Regions from separate parts of the Homo sapiens genome. Here regions 1, 2 and 3 are each linked to region 4. The links are contacts of gene promoters, found by promoter capture Hi-C in blood cells and fetal thymus (Javierre and others, 2016). All regions are on one chromosome and are shown on one strand. The core of a region is centred on a gene start or on the middle of the fragment in contact, and the rest is flanking DNA. Distances in the headings are between cores, read along the strand shown.

The links. The method cuts DNA at HindIII sites, captures the fragments that hold promoters and counts their contacts. A CHiCAGO score of 5 or more calls a contact.
Region 1: a contact is called between a fragment that was not itself captured here and the fragment with the promoter of TIAM1-AS1 in region 4, in 14 of 17 cell types (naive CD4 T cells, activated CD4 T cells, non-activated CD4 T cells and 11 more). The highest score is 27.2, in naive CD4 T cells.
Region 2: a contact is called between a fragment that was not itself captured here and the fragment with the promoter of TIAM1-AS1 in region 4, in 6 of 17 cell types (activated CD4 T cells, naive CD8 T cells, fetal thymus and 3 more). The highest score is 13.1, in activated CD4 T cells.
Region 3: a contact is called between a fragment that was not itself captured here and the fragment with the promoter of TIAM1-AS1 in region 4, in 9 of 17 cell types (activated CD4 T cells, naive CD4 T cells, non-activated CD4 T cells and 6 more). The highest score is 16.9, in activated CD4 T cells.

Annotation. Positions count from the first base shown.
Region 1 is chr21:31,191,356-31,194,354 of GRCh38, forward strand. The region is part of intron 13 of TIAM1 (TIAM Rac1 associated GEF 1); the gene reads right to left. Among named protein-coding and RNA genes, the nearest start is that of TIAM1, 150 kb to the right of the region's middle. The HindIII fragment of the contact is 1,451 bases long and covers 967-2,417 here.
Region 2 is chr21:31,287,097-31,289,955 of GRCh38, forward strand. The region is part of intron 2 of TIAM1 (TIAM Rac1 associated GEF 1); the gene reads right to left. Among named protein-coding and RNA genes, the nearest start is that of TIAM1, 56 kb to the right of the region's middle. The HindIII fragment of the contact is 5,407 bases long and covers 1-2,859 here.
Region 3 is chr21:31,269,495-31,272,439 of GRCh38, forward strand. The region is part of intron 3 of TIAM1 (TIAM Rac1 associated GEF 1); the gene reads right to left. Among named protein-coding and RNA genes, the nearest start is that of TIAM1, 73 kb to the right of the region's middle. The HindIII fragment of the contact is 510 bases long and covers 1,128-1,637 here.
Region 4 is chr21:31,557,445-31,560,529 of GRCh38, forward strand. TIAM1-AS1 (TIAM1 antisense RNA 1) reads left to right here and starts at 1,789. Exons shown (of 2, transcript NR_171013.1): 1 at 1,789-2,151; 2 at 2,573-3,043. It also overlaps a transcript of TIAM1 not described here. RefSeq lists enhancers at 1-602, 1,416-2,228 and a silencer at 1,508-2,137. The HindIII fragment of the contact is 6,855 bases long and covers 1-3,085 here.

The sequences.
Region 1 (2,999 bases), core at 442-2,941, 370 kb before region 4:
ATGTTGGCCAGGATGGTCTCAATCTCTTGACCTCATGATCTGCCCACCTCGGCCTCCCAAAATGCTGGGATTACAGGTGTGACCCTCTGTGTCCAGCCTGTGGCAGGGCTTTTCAAAGTGAAGTCAGGGAACAGGTGCCAACTGTTTGCTAATGGCAGTAATGTCAGGACAGAAATCAAGACTAAGCATTGAGAACCTCTTGTAGCTTTGACATTGCCACAACCTCCAAGCATGGGATTTTGTATTTCACAAAAGCAGCAGTGGTCACAAAAGAGTGGAAATTAAAACAAAACAAAATACCTGCTTCTTTACATCGGATGAGTTGGGAAGCACTGTTTGTAACACTCTCAAGACTGACGCCTGGTGCCCTGTCATACCCTCCTCAGGGGGTAAAAGTAAATGGGTTCTGTGAGTAATTCAGTGACTTTAACAAAAAGTATTAAAATGTATACAAACGGTAGCAGTTTCATGCCCAGTTCCAATTTCTGAGTCCCTGAATCACTCAATCTTAGAAGCAGAGTCCAAGAGCTTTGAAATTCAGCCTTCTGAACTTGATCTTTGCTAGTTTATCCTTACTCAACAAAAATTAAGTAAACTGAAGAGAAAAAGAATAATCATTATGGAGCATCTAATTTTGGAGGATCCAGGCACTTCACTGCTACCAATTACAGCTCTAATTACTGAGGTCGGCTTTTTGCTGCATAATAAGCCGCTCATAAACATTTATTCCTTGCCATGAGAAACATTCTCCTGGCTTTATTATGTCTTTAGTTTTAAGGTCAAGAAATAAACAGCATAAAGTTATAACGCAAGTGGCCAGGGTTCAAAACTGGATTCTCTTCATTAGGCCCAAATCCTCTATTGAGTATTCCGAGATGAAGACTGGTGGCCTACAGGGGAAGGTGCAGAAGGAATGTAATATCCCAGTGCTCAGAAAAGAGTTTTAAAGATTTTCAAATGCTAAAAAGCTTAATAACCTGGGCCAGGCACAGTGGCTCATGCCTGTAATCCCAGCACTTTGGGAGGCCGAGGTGGGTGGATCAGTTGAGGTCAGGAGTTCAAGACCACCCTGGCCAACACGGTGAAACCCGTCTCTTCTAAAAGTACAAAAATTAGCCAGGCATGGTGGCACACGCCTGTAATCCCAGCTACTTGGGAAGCAGGAGAATCACTTGAACCTGGGAGGCAGAGGTTGGAGTGAGCTGAGATCGCGCCACTGCACTTCAGCCTGGGCGACAGAGGGAAACTGTGTCTTAAAAAAAAAAAAGACAGCTTAATAACTTGATTCAGAGAGAAATCTTAAGCGAGCATATGAGGTAGTCTTTATGTCTTTCCACCGGGAACTTTGTTCTCCTTCTACCAAACAGTAGAATCACACTTCAGTGCTCCCTCGTAGGTAGGTATGGCTGTGTGACTTGCTTTGGCCAATGAATTGGGAGTGGGACAACACCTGCTTTCCCATCTCCCCTTCCCCCTCTGCAGAGTGACAAGCACTGTCCCAGGTGGCAGCTGCTCCAGACCTGGGTGTGGAATGAGGACAACGTATGGAGTCCCAGCCAACCCACAAGGGACGCGTGGTGAATGTGAGAAATAAATGTCACTGTTTCGAGCCACCGGGCTTTGGTGGCTGTCTGTTACCTCAGCTAACCTCGCCACTCCTGACTGATACAGCACAGCATGGATTTTCCTCACTTAATTTACTCAGGCACCAACTCTGTTACTATTCAAGCCATACAGTGTAATGCTAAGTAAAGAAGACTGGTCTTAAACATATGGAAAGGAATATATATTTAACTCCGCCAGAATGTAGACAACCGCATAGGAAAGCGTTAACACAGCAGGCATGACTGCTATTCTTCGAAAGGCCCGCTTACAAATTTGAACCTTGGCTGGTATCCTGAGAACTTGGATTTTGGGAGGGTTCCCAACACCCTGAGTGGCTCACAGTGCCTAAACTGTGGTACAAACAATGGGATTTATGGTGAACGCCTACTTTCCTCCTGGGAGTCTGGAATTTTGGTGCATGCTAGGCAGAGGGTGCCTAGGGAACCAGCCTCCCCAGAAAAGCCCTGGGCACTGACTCTCTAACCACCTTCCCTAGGAGAGAGCATTTCTCAGGTGTCCTCACAACTTGGTGCTGCAGGAGTTATCCTCATTCTACGTGACTCCACTGAAACAGGGCCCGCTGAAGCTCACACCTGGTTTCCCCTAGACTTCACTCCATGCGCCTTTTCCCTTTGCTGATTTTGCTTTGTGTTGATACAGGAGTTAAGATGAAATGATTTAGGCAGAGAGCGAGGAGAAGAAAATCCTCAGTAACATTTTCCTTTTAATGAAAAGCAACCCCCAAATAATTTTTTTTTGTAACAAAAAGCAGCCTGTAAAATCAAGCTGCACACACAGACAAGCAAGCTGGAAGCTTACACCGGTGAGTGCCGGCAGTGTGAATCGGGAAAAGCTAGCTGGGACTAAGCATGTTCAAAATGGCGGCTCCATCCTCTCTTCTCTTTGTCAGCCATGCGTACAGTAAGAAGCAGTGAACATGGCCCCCGCCAGGCAAAGACTCCATTTGCATAATAAAGATTAGGATAGGGCAGCCAGCTTCCATGCGTGCTGTGTAGACCTCACACCTGGTCCAAACAATCTGTGGGCCTTATGTAAATCAGACACCGCCTCCTCAAGCCTGGCTATACAAATCCAGTGCATTCCGCCGCTGGCCGGAAGACCCACTCGGGCACCCCTCTCTCTCTGCAGGAGAGAGAGCTATTCTCCTTTCTCTTTTTTTTTGCCTGTTAAACCTCTACTCCTAAACCCACTTCTTGTGTGTCCGCATCCTCGATTCCCTTGGCATGAGACAACGAACCGTGGGTATTTACCCAAGACAACGAAGCCGCTTCAGTATAATTTGCTATTAAAAAAATCATAGTTGTGAGTATGACCAGAGGCTGAGCTCTGTGGGTCTTCCTAGTGAATCAGCAAACCTAGGGATGGTCTTGGGG
Region 2 (2,859 bases), core at 288-2,787, 270 kb before region 4:
ATTGAATATATCTTACAATCACAATGGTGTATTGGGGTTTAGTGGTGCCATTTTCTCTGCTTCTTAGTGGTATGCAAAATAGTGGTGCATTTTACAAATGACAGCATCTTATGAAAAAGAGTATATAAAAATAGGCTTCTAAATAGCTACGCTTAGGGCTATCTAAAAACTGCTTATGAATTGTTTGGGTAAGACAGAGTATCTATGTAGAATTTTACTGATGATCACACATTCAGTTCAACTCAACCAACATTTTACTGGGCACCTGTTATATGTTTGGAATGAGGAAATAGACCATTTCTTTATGATGCATATAATCTGGGAAGACAGTGGGCATCTACCCACTCAGACAGGGCTGTAACAGCTAGTCTGGCATTATTAATAGTGAAGGATGTGAAGAAATAGACTAATTCTGCTAGGAGAGGCTCTCGGTTGAACCTGGTCCTGACAGGTTAATAGGATTTGGCTTAGCTTAGGAGGATGAGAGGAAATGAACAGGGATAGGAGAGAGTTTACACAAAGAGAAGGACAGAAATTTCCAGTAAAAGAGAAGGGTATAAGCAAAGACTCTGAGGAATGAAAGTATCATTAGCCCAATGTTGCAGTGAGGCGAGTGCATGGGAAAAAGCTGGAGATGATGAAGCTAAAAAGATGGGCTGGGGCTATGGATGCTACACAAAGGAACTGAACATGATTGTATTTGATGGGATTACACGATGAGATTTTATTATGGGAGTTACATGATCAAACATAGTTTTCCCACCTGGGTAGCTTGGAAGAGAAGGGAAAGACTTATTGCAAGCCATCAATAAGTTGGGATGGCCCAACGGGGACAGTGAGTGCCTTGGAGTAGTGAGAATGACAGGTAGGATCACCAGGACTCGGTGGCCACATACATCCTTTGAGGAAAGAAGGAGGAAGAACAAGGAGGCATAGACTTCTCTGAAGTTCCTGGCTTGGTAACTGAAATGGAAGGTGACAATAACACCTTCCACTCTGAGGTATAATCAAGCACCAGATTCAAATGTTATCCCTGAGGGGCCACAATTCACTCACAGTGATCTTACTGGAAATTTGGTGTCCATTCCACAAAGGACCTCAAAAACAAAGGACTGGAACCCACTAGAACAGCAATACAGTTAAAAAACAAAAACAAACAAACAAAAAAAACAACCTTCCTGCCTTAGTATGTTTGGGCTGCTATAACAAAATACCTTAGACTGAGTAATTTATAAACAACAGAAATTTCTTGCTCACAGTTCTAGGGGCTGGGAAGTCCAAGTTCAGGTTGCCAGCAGATTCAGCATCTGATGAGGGCCTGTTCCTCACAGATGGCACCTTCCTGATACATCCTCTCCTGATAGAAAGGGCAAACAGGCTCCTTCAAGTCTCTTTCATAAGGGCACGAATCCCATTTATGAGGGCAGAGCACTCATGACCTAATCACGTCCTAAAGGCCCCACCGCATGATACTATCACATTCAGGTATTAGGTTCCAACATATGAATTTATACCAACATTCAGAGCATAGCAACTCCCAAAAAACTTAGATCAGGGAGGATATTGGAATGGAGACACAAATAATGGCCAATTCCAATGCAGATTTATGGAACTTAAAACACACACAAAAACAAAACCAAACCCTCTAATTATCCATGAGAGGCCAGAAGTTTCAAACATTATCTCAACCACACTTTGTATGGACTAAATCAATACCTGTAATAATAAATGGATTTAACAGCTTCAATAATTTAATGCAAAAATAAAAATAGGATGCCTCAGCCTTGGCATCATAAAGTTAAAAAGTAAATCAGATTTGGGTTCAGTCTCCAAAATATTCTCAGGCTGCAGGAAACCCACCATGCTGTTGACTCACATCTTGAACTCACTCTTATTATTTAAATAAGATCACTGAATGCAGGCAATGATCAAAGCTGTACAAATCACAGTGCAATATATCTGCAATGCATAAATAAGCATGCCCAAGTGCCACTTAAACACATGTAGCATTTAAGAACAATCATTTAACTTTTCTGTGAGTGTATAAAATAAGAAGTCAATAGCTTTGCAACACCATGCAGATCTCAGGCAATGCCCTGGTTTATGTGAGTGACCAGACCAGCAAAGGATGAGAGTGGAGCACATGGTGATGGGCACAGAGGGATGGCAAGAAAGACATGGGTTAACTATGGGACACAAGTGACTTGGCCCAACTCTCCTAAGCACCCATTCTTTTTAAAGTTAGGTGGATGGTCTGGAAGTTTTTGTGCTCCCTACGCCTGGAAAGAAGTCCATATTTCTTTAACTTTCTCAAGTCAAAACCCACGGGCATCACAATGGTAACCACCATGAGATTTTTCTCTACTGGGTATTCTTTTTTCAGTATAGGTGATTCAATTAAGGCAAAAGTACCACTGAGCTGGACCCCAGAAAAGTGACCTAAGCTCATTTAAAAGCCGGTGCAAGATATTTTGGCTGTACAACAATTACTGTTCATCCTAGCCAAATGACAAATTGGGAGAGAATAAAAAGCATATGAAGTCATTGCGAATCAGATTTGTTATGTAGAAGAAAACAAAAATCAAACAGAGCCCATATTCCCCTCCCTAAAAATCATAAGAGGATAATCAGCCTCTTTTAATATAAAGGCAATTCCTGGGGAGTCATGGGAACGTTTCTCAAACAGTGATACATCAGTCCCCATGCAGAAAACCGATACATAAAATCACAAAGCAAATCTGTTTCTAGTATGACAGCAACAGGCTTTAAAAGCCTGACATTCACTGCCAAGTAATATCTATGGGACCACACACAAGGGAAGTGAAACAGACACTAGGCTTGCCCTCTACGAATCAATGA
Region 3 (2,945 bases), core at 133-2,632, 290 kb before region 4:
CTGAGAGGTTAATAAGAACGATGAAAGCCCATGTGGGATCAGCGGAGGACTCTGAAATAACATCAGCGTGAAAAGTTGAAATTGCTCATTGCATACAGGAGACACAATCTCCACTTCAGGGACAACCCCTGCCCCACTGGCAACCCCCAGAAAGTTGGTGAACTTTAAGTTTGTTTGTTTTTTTTTTTTTTTTTTGAGACGGAGTCTTGCTCTGTCGCCCCGGCTGGAGTGCAGTGGCACGATCTTGGCTCACTGCAAGCTCCACCTCCCAGGTTCACGCCATTCTCCTGCCTCAGCCTCCCGAGTAGCTGGGACTACAGGCGCCCGCCACCACGCCTGGCTAATTTTTTGTATTTTTATTAGAGACAGGGTTTCACTATGTTAGCCAGGATGGTCTCAATCTCCTGACCTTGTGATCTGCCCACCTAGGCCTCCCAAAGTGCTGGGATTACAGGCGTGAGCCACCACGCCCGGCCGATGAATTTTAAGTTTTACCCTTTCCATGTACAAATGTAAAATGCCAGCTACTTCCATCATCTTAATTTCTTCCTATTCAATCTTACTTAACCCTTTTTATTTTTATCTTCAACAAACAAAACCTGATTTGCATTTTATATTTGTGTGGGTTTTGTTGTTCCTGTAGCCCAAAGAAAGCAAATTCAGAGCAGAAATTAACTTTTACTTTTTTTACGGCTTCCACAAGACTAGAAATATTCCACGCACGATAAAGCATCAGTAAATATCGGTGCATTTTAGTAACAAAAGCAAAAAGTGAAGGACCAGCACCTCACTAACATCATCACACAGTCACTAGGTAGGAGAGAGAATATTTGGGACAAGGAGGACAGGCTGAAATGCAAAAATTGGGATTGACATTGAAAAGGTGGATGCCAGAAAACTGGTACTAGATCTCAAGCTTGGAAACACTACCAGTTTTAAATTCATTAAACTCTTAATTTCAGACTATGATTTACTTATATAGAATGTTAGTGGTCCCACATAGCTCTCATGTTTAGGGACTAGGTAGGAGGGAGGGAGGACAAGCTTTTAGCCTAAGAACAACTCTCCATATTCAAACCTCAAGTCTGGCTTCTCGTGCTTTTCTTTCTTTCCAATCTTCTAAGTCAAGCTTGTCCAACCCATAGCCCACAGGCCACATGGATGGCTTTGAATGCAGCCCAACACAAATTCATACACTTTCTTAAAACACTATGAGATTTTTTTGCAATTTTGGTTTTTTTGGCTCATCCGTTATCGTTAGTGTTAGTGTATCTTATGTGTGGCCCAAGACAATTCTTCTTCTTCCAATGTGGCCCAGGGAAGCCAAAAGATTGGACATCCCTGTTCTAAGTTCTGGCTTCCTTAGCCTGCCTCAGGGCCTGTGCCTGTCCCTCTGCCTAGAACGCTCTGCCTTTCCGCCTACTCCACCAAGTTCCTTCAGACCTTCAATCAAATGTCCCCTGGTCAAGGAGGCCTTTCCTGACCCCTCCTCCATCTAAAATGACAACCAGTGCTGCAGCACTCAACATTTCTTACCCCTCTTCTTTTGCTTTGCCTTCACATTGATCATAATTGTAACCAACATATATTTCACTTACTGGTCTTTCTTATTCTCTATCCTTTCCCACTAGAGCCTAAGCTTCAGGAGGGCTGGAAGTGTCTTGTTTCCTGCTGTATCCTCATTGCCTAGAACCCAGCCTGAAAGGTTGTAGGTGGTCCATTAAAAAAAACACCAAAAACCCAAAAGAAAAAAAAAAATACTGGAATGAATGAATGACAAAGACACTTTAATCTAAGATGTGAAAACTCATACAACTACAATGCAACATAGGTGAGAACATGACCACAATGCTAATGAGACACAGCACACATCAGTCTTAAATACGCTAGCCTCTTCTCTCAGGATGCCTGGAAGAAACTTCCCAATCAGCTCTCTGCTCTCTGGGTCCCTTCCACCTGCAGGTCTGTGTCAGTCCCTTACTCTGGACCACTGGGTTGAAGGTCATCCTGATCCATGAACTTAGGGGTGAGGGTGTTCAGCTTGTGCTCCAGTGTGTTCCCCTCCCCACCCCCAATTCTTCCTGGGGAAAGAATTAAGGGCTTGCACCTGTCTAATTCCACTGAATTCTTGCCTCCAGTTCCTATCTTCCTCTTCCTTTTGGAGCTGCAGTGCAGAGGTTCAGGAATGAGGTTAAGAGTTGAGAGGGCAAGTGTAGAACTGCTCAGGCCTAGGACGATCCAGAGAAAGTGAGAGCAAAGGAGTCTTAGTGGCATGATGGGCAAGAGTGTCATCTGAAAGTGGTATGGGGTCAAAGCATCAGGAGTTCCTGGGGGAGTGCTCAGGGCCAGGGATCAAAGACAATAGGATGAGTGTGATTTTTCTTTTCTTACCAACACCATGATCCCTCTCTTAAAGTGATAAGTTAAACTTTTCAATAAGTAATCACCTTAAGGGCCTTTAAATCCCACCAAATTAAATGCAGATGCTCCTCCATTTATGATGGGGTCATGTCCTCATAAACCCATTGTAAGGTGAAAATATCCTAAGTCAAAAATTCATTTAATACACCTAACCTACCAAACATCATAGCTCAGCACAGCTTACCCTAAATGGCTCAGAACACTTACATTAGCCTACAGCTGAGCAAAATCATCTGACACAAAGCGTATTTTAAGTATTGAATGTTTGTTGAATATTTATTTATAATAAGTGTTGAATATTTCATGTAACTTACTGAATACTGTGCTGAAAGTGAAAAACAAAATGATTGTATGTGTACCACCGTAAAGTTAAAAAAACACAAGTCAAACCACCCTAAGTTGGGGACTGTCTATACATAGTAAAGGAATTAAAAGGTATTTTAAGAAACTTTATCAATATACACAAATACTTATTAGTTAGGGTGGTTCATATATATATATCAGGTAGGTGGTCATTTCTCAGG
Region 4 (3,085 bases), core at 539-3,038:
AGAGGTTATTCCTTATCCCCACTTTACAGATGCGCAAACTGAGACACAGGAAGATAGAATAGCTCGGCCGGGATCACCCAGCTTGTGAGTGACACCGAGCAGGTACTGGAACCCGGGTTTGTTTGACCTCAGCGCACAGGCTCTAAACCTCTGCTCCAACTCAAAGTATGCGCCAAGTCAGCGTGCATGGGTAACCCGATCCGGACGGCTCTGACTCGGGATGCGGCACAGCTGCCCTGCGGGGCCGCGCGGGTGTCACCGAGGCGGGCACAGACTGCACAGTGTCCCCAAGGGCTCGCGCACGTCCTTCAAGACCTGCCAGCGCGCGGGAAAAGGCAGGCTCCGAGTCAACCAGGGCTGACCCGGGGGCAAGACCAGGAGACGCGACGACTGGAACCGGGTGAGTGTGGCCGAGTCGGCGCCCCGAGGGCCGCCAGCCTGGACCCCAGGCTGGGACACGGGCGCCCCCGGGTGCAGGGGACCTAGAGGCGCCGTGCGCGGCGGGGGCTGGGCGCGAAGGCGCCGAGACGGCATCTTTCCCCTGCAGCATCCCGCCCCGCGGCCGGGGGGAGGGGGCGTCACCTGACAGCGCGCAACAACTTCTCCAGGTTTCGAGGGGGCAAGCGGCAGCCGCCGGGGCTGGGGGGCGCACGGCGCGCTGCTCTCGCCCAATGGCGAGGTCTGTAAACAAAAGCGGGCCCCACGCGGGTCCCCAGCCGGGTGGCGAGGGGCGCGGCGCAGCAGCATCGCAGCGGCAGAGCTGGTGAGAGGGCGAGGCGGGGACGGGATAGGGCGCGGGGACCCAGGGCACAGTCCCCGGGACCCGACCGCCCGGATGAGGCATTGTCTGCGCACCCGCAGGATTCCGCTTTTAATGCCCCCCTCCGGGGGTTCGTCGCGGGTCCCCAGCTCCGTGCGCCGGCCCCCGGGCTTTCCGCCCGGTGAGCCCGGCCCCGAGGGCGGCACGGATCGCCAAGGTGAGCGCCCAGGACGCGTCGCCGAAAAGCCAGGCCCGGAGGTGCCTAAGTCAGGGACCGAGACGCAAACATAGACACAAGGATGCACAAGCACGCCCTCCCCGAAGTTGACAAAAATCAGCCGATAAAATACAAAGTGCCGCGGCCGCCGCAGGTCAGCGCTGACCTCCTGCTGCCGAGAGGACCGAATGCCGACGTCCGGACGCTGTCATTTCCATCCAGCGAAGGCACCTGGGCTGCACGGTCTCGTCTCCCTCCTTCGCGCGAGGGATGCCTCCTCCTGCCTCTCCTCCCCGCATCTCCCCACCTCCCAAGTGTGTGAACACGAAAACAATACGTGGAAAGCCCGATCGGGGGGAGCTAGGACCCGCCGGGAGCCCCAGTGTGCGGGAGACGGGGGTCAGAACGTGCCCGGCACGGGCACCGAGGCTCCGGGCATCCTCGCCGCCGTCTCCCGGGGCGGCTCCGGCCGGACGCCCGCGCACCCCAGGCCCGCGGTACTCACCCGCGACGGTCGTCCGGGATCTCCGCGACGGGGCCGGGCACGATGCGGGGCAGCCGTGCCCCTGGGGCTGCGGGCGCCAAGGCGTCCGCGGAGCTGCAGAGCTGCGCGCCCGACGGCGGCGGCGCTGCTCTGCCGGCCGCGCTCGAACCCGCTCGTGGTCTGCCAATCGGAGCTGTCAGGGCCCCTCCGCCTGCGGCCTCGGGGGCCGGGCCGCGGGAGCCCGTGGGAAACCGAGCTCCGATTGGGCCGCCTGACAATCGCTCCGCCTCCGGCCAGCCAATCCGAGGCGGTGGATGCAGGAGCGGGGCGTTCGGAGTTGGGCTGTAGAGCGACTATGGGCGCACGCCGGGTATCCGCGCCGCAGCCAGGCTCGGAGCGCGCGGCTGGAGGGGCGCGGGCGGCGCGCGCTCCAGAGATGCCTTCCTGCGAGGCTCCGTCAGCGCGGCCCGGGGAGATCGCCCGCAGGCAGCGGAGGCGCGGCGGGCCGGGGGACGACCAGGGAGCCCCTAACAAAGCAGCTTTGGGAGGGCCGGAGGCCTCTGCCTCCCTCGGCGATAGGTCCGCGAAGCTGCCTGTCATCTCGCATAGGTGGAGGTGGCCAATGGCGTGCACAGACGGAGCTCTAGTTGGCGCGCGCGCGCGGCTCGGCATCGGTGGGATTGGTCGGAGGTAAAGGATTTTCCTGCCACCTAAGGCGGAGAGGAAGGGGGATCGAAACGGGGGAGGCGAAGAGTCAAAAAATGTTGTGCCTGGGACAAGTGGTCTGGCGCGGGAGGCGTGTGCCTGGCTCTAGGGGGAGACAGGAACTTTTTTACGAGAGAAAAAAATCCTAACGCAATCCCTTCCCGTGGATGCTAGAGGATGTTAGACCCTGAGCAGCCTCCAGGTAGGGCATGGTGGCCTTCACCAGAGTCCAGGACTCCCAGGGTTCACTTACCGTGCCCAGCAAGCGAACTTGGAATAACAGCGTGGGGTTTGGGCCTTACGCTTACCTGCTGGGCAGAGTAAGTGACTCGGGCAGGGTTCACGCAGACCTCCTGGGCTCCTCTGTAAAATCCGGAAACTACAGTTGCAGTTTACCTCTCGCAAGGTTGTGGAGAACGCGGAAACGGAGACGCTGGCGGTACAGCCTCGAGCGAAACCTTTCCCTACACGAGGCCGGAGCTTCCTCCTCTCCTGAAGAGCTCTAGACTTCCCCATTTACAACAAAGGCTGGGATGTATGTTCCTTACACCTTGATTCCATACACACGTGTTCGCCCCGGGAGCTGGGAAGGTCTGCGCTCCCGGGGTGATCTTGTTGAAAACAAAAAGAATTGCCCACGCTGTGGAAGATAAACCTAAACCGGAAAATTGAAAGTCATCCCTGATTCCTCCTTCTTCTTAACCCTCTCCCATCCATTTTTGTTAACCTCCCAAACCCATTCCTCCCATCCTGTCTCACCTGGACCTCAGTAAAGGGCTCCCATCGTCCTTCTGTCCCAGGCCTTGCCCCCTGAAATCTGTTCTCCACTTTGCAGAATGATCCTTCTAAGCAGAAAAATCTCATTTTGCGCTCCCAACTCTGGGTCTCTTTTCTTTCCCCAGAACACGTCAACCCCCAG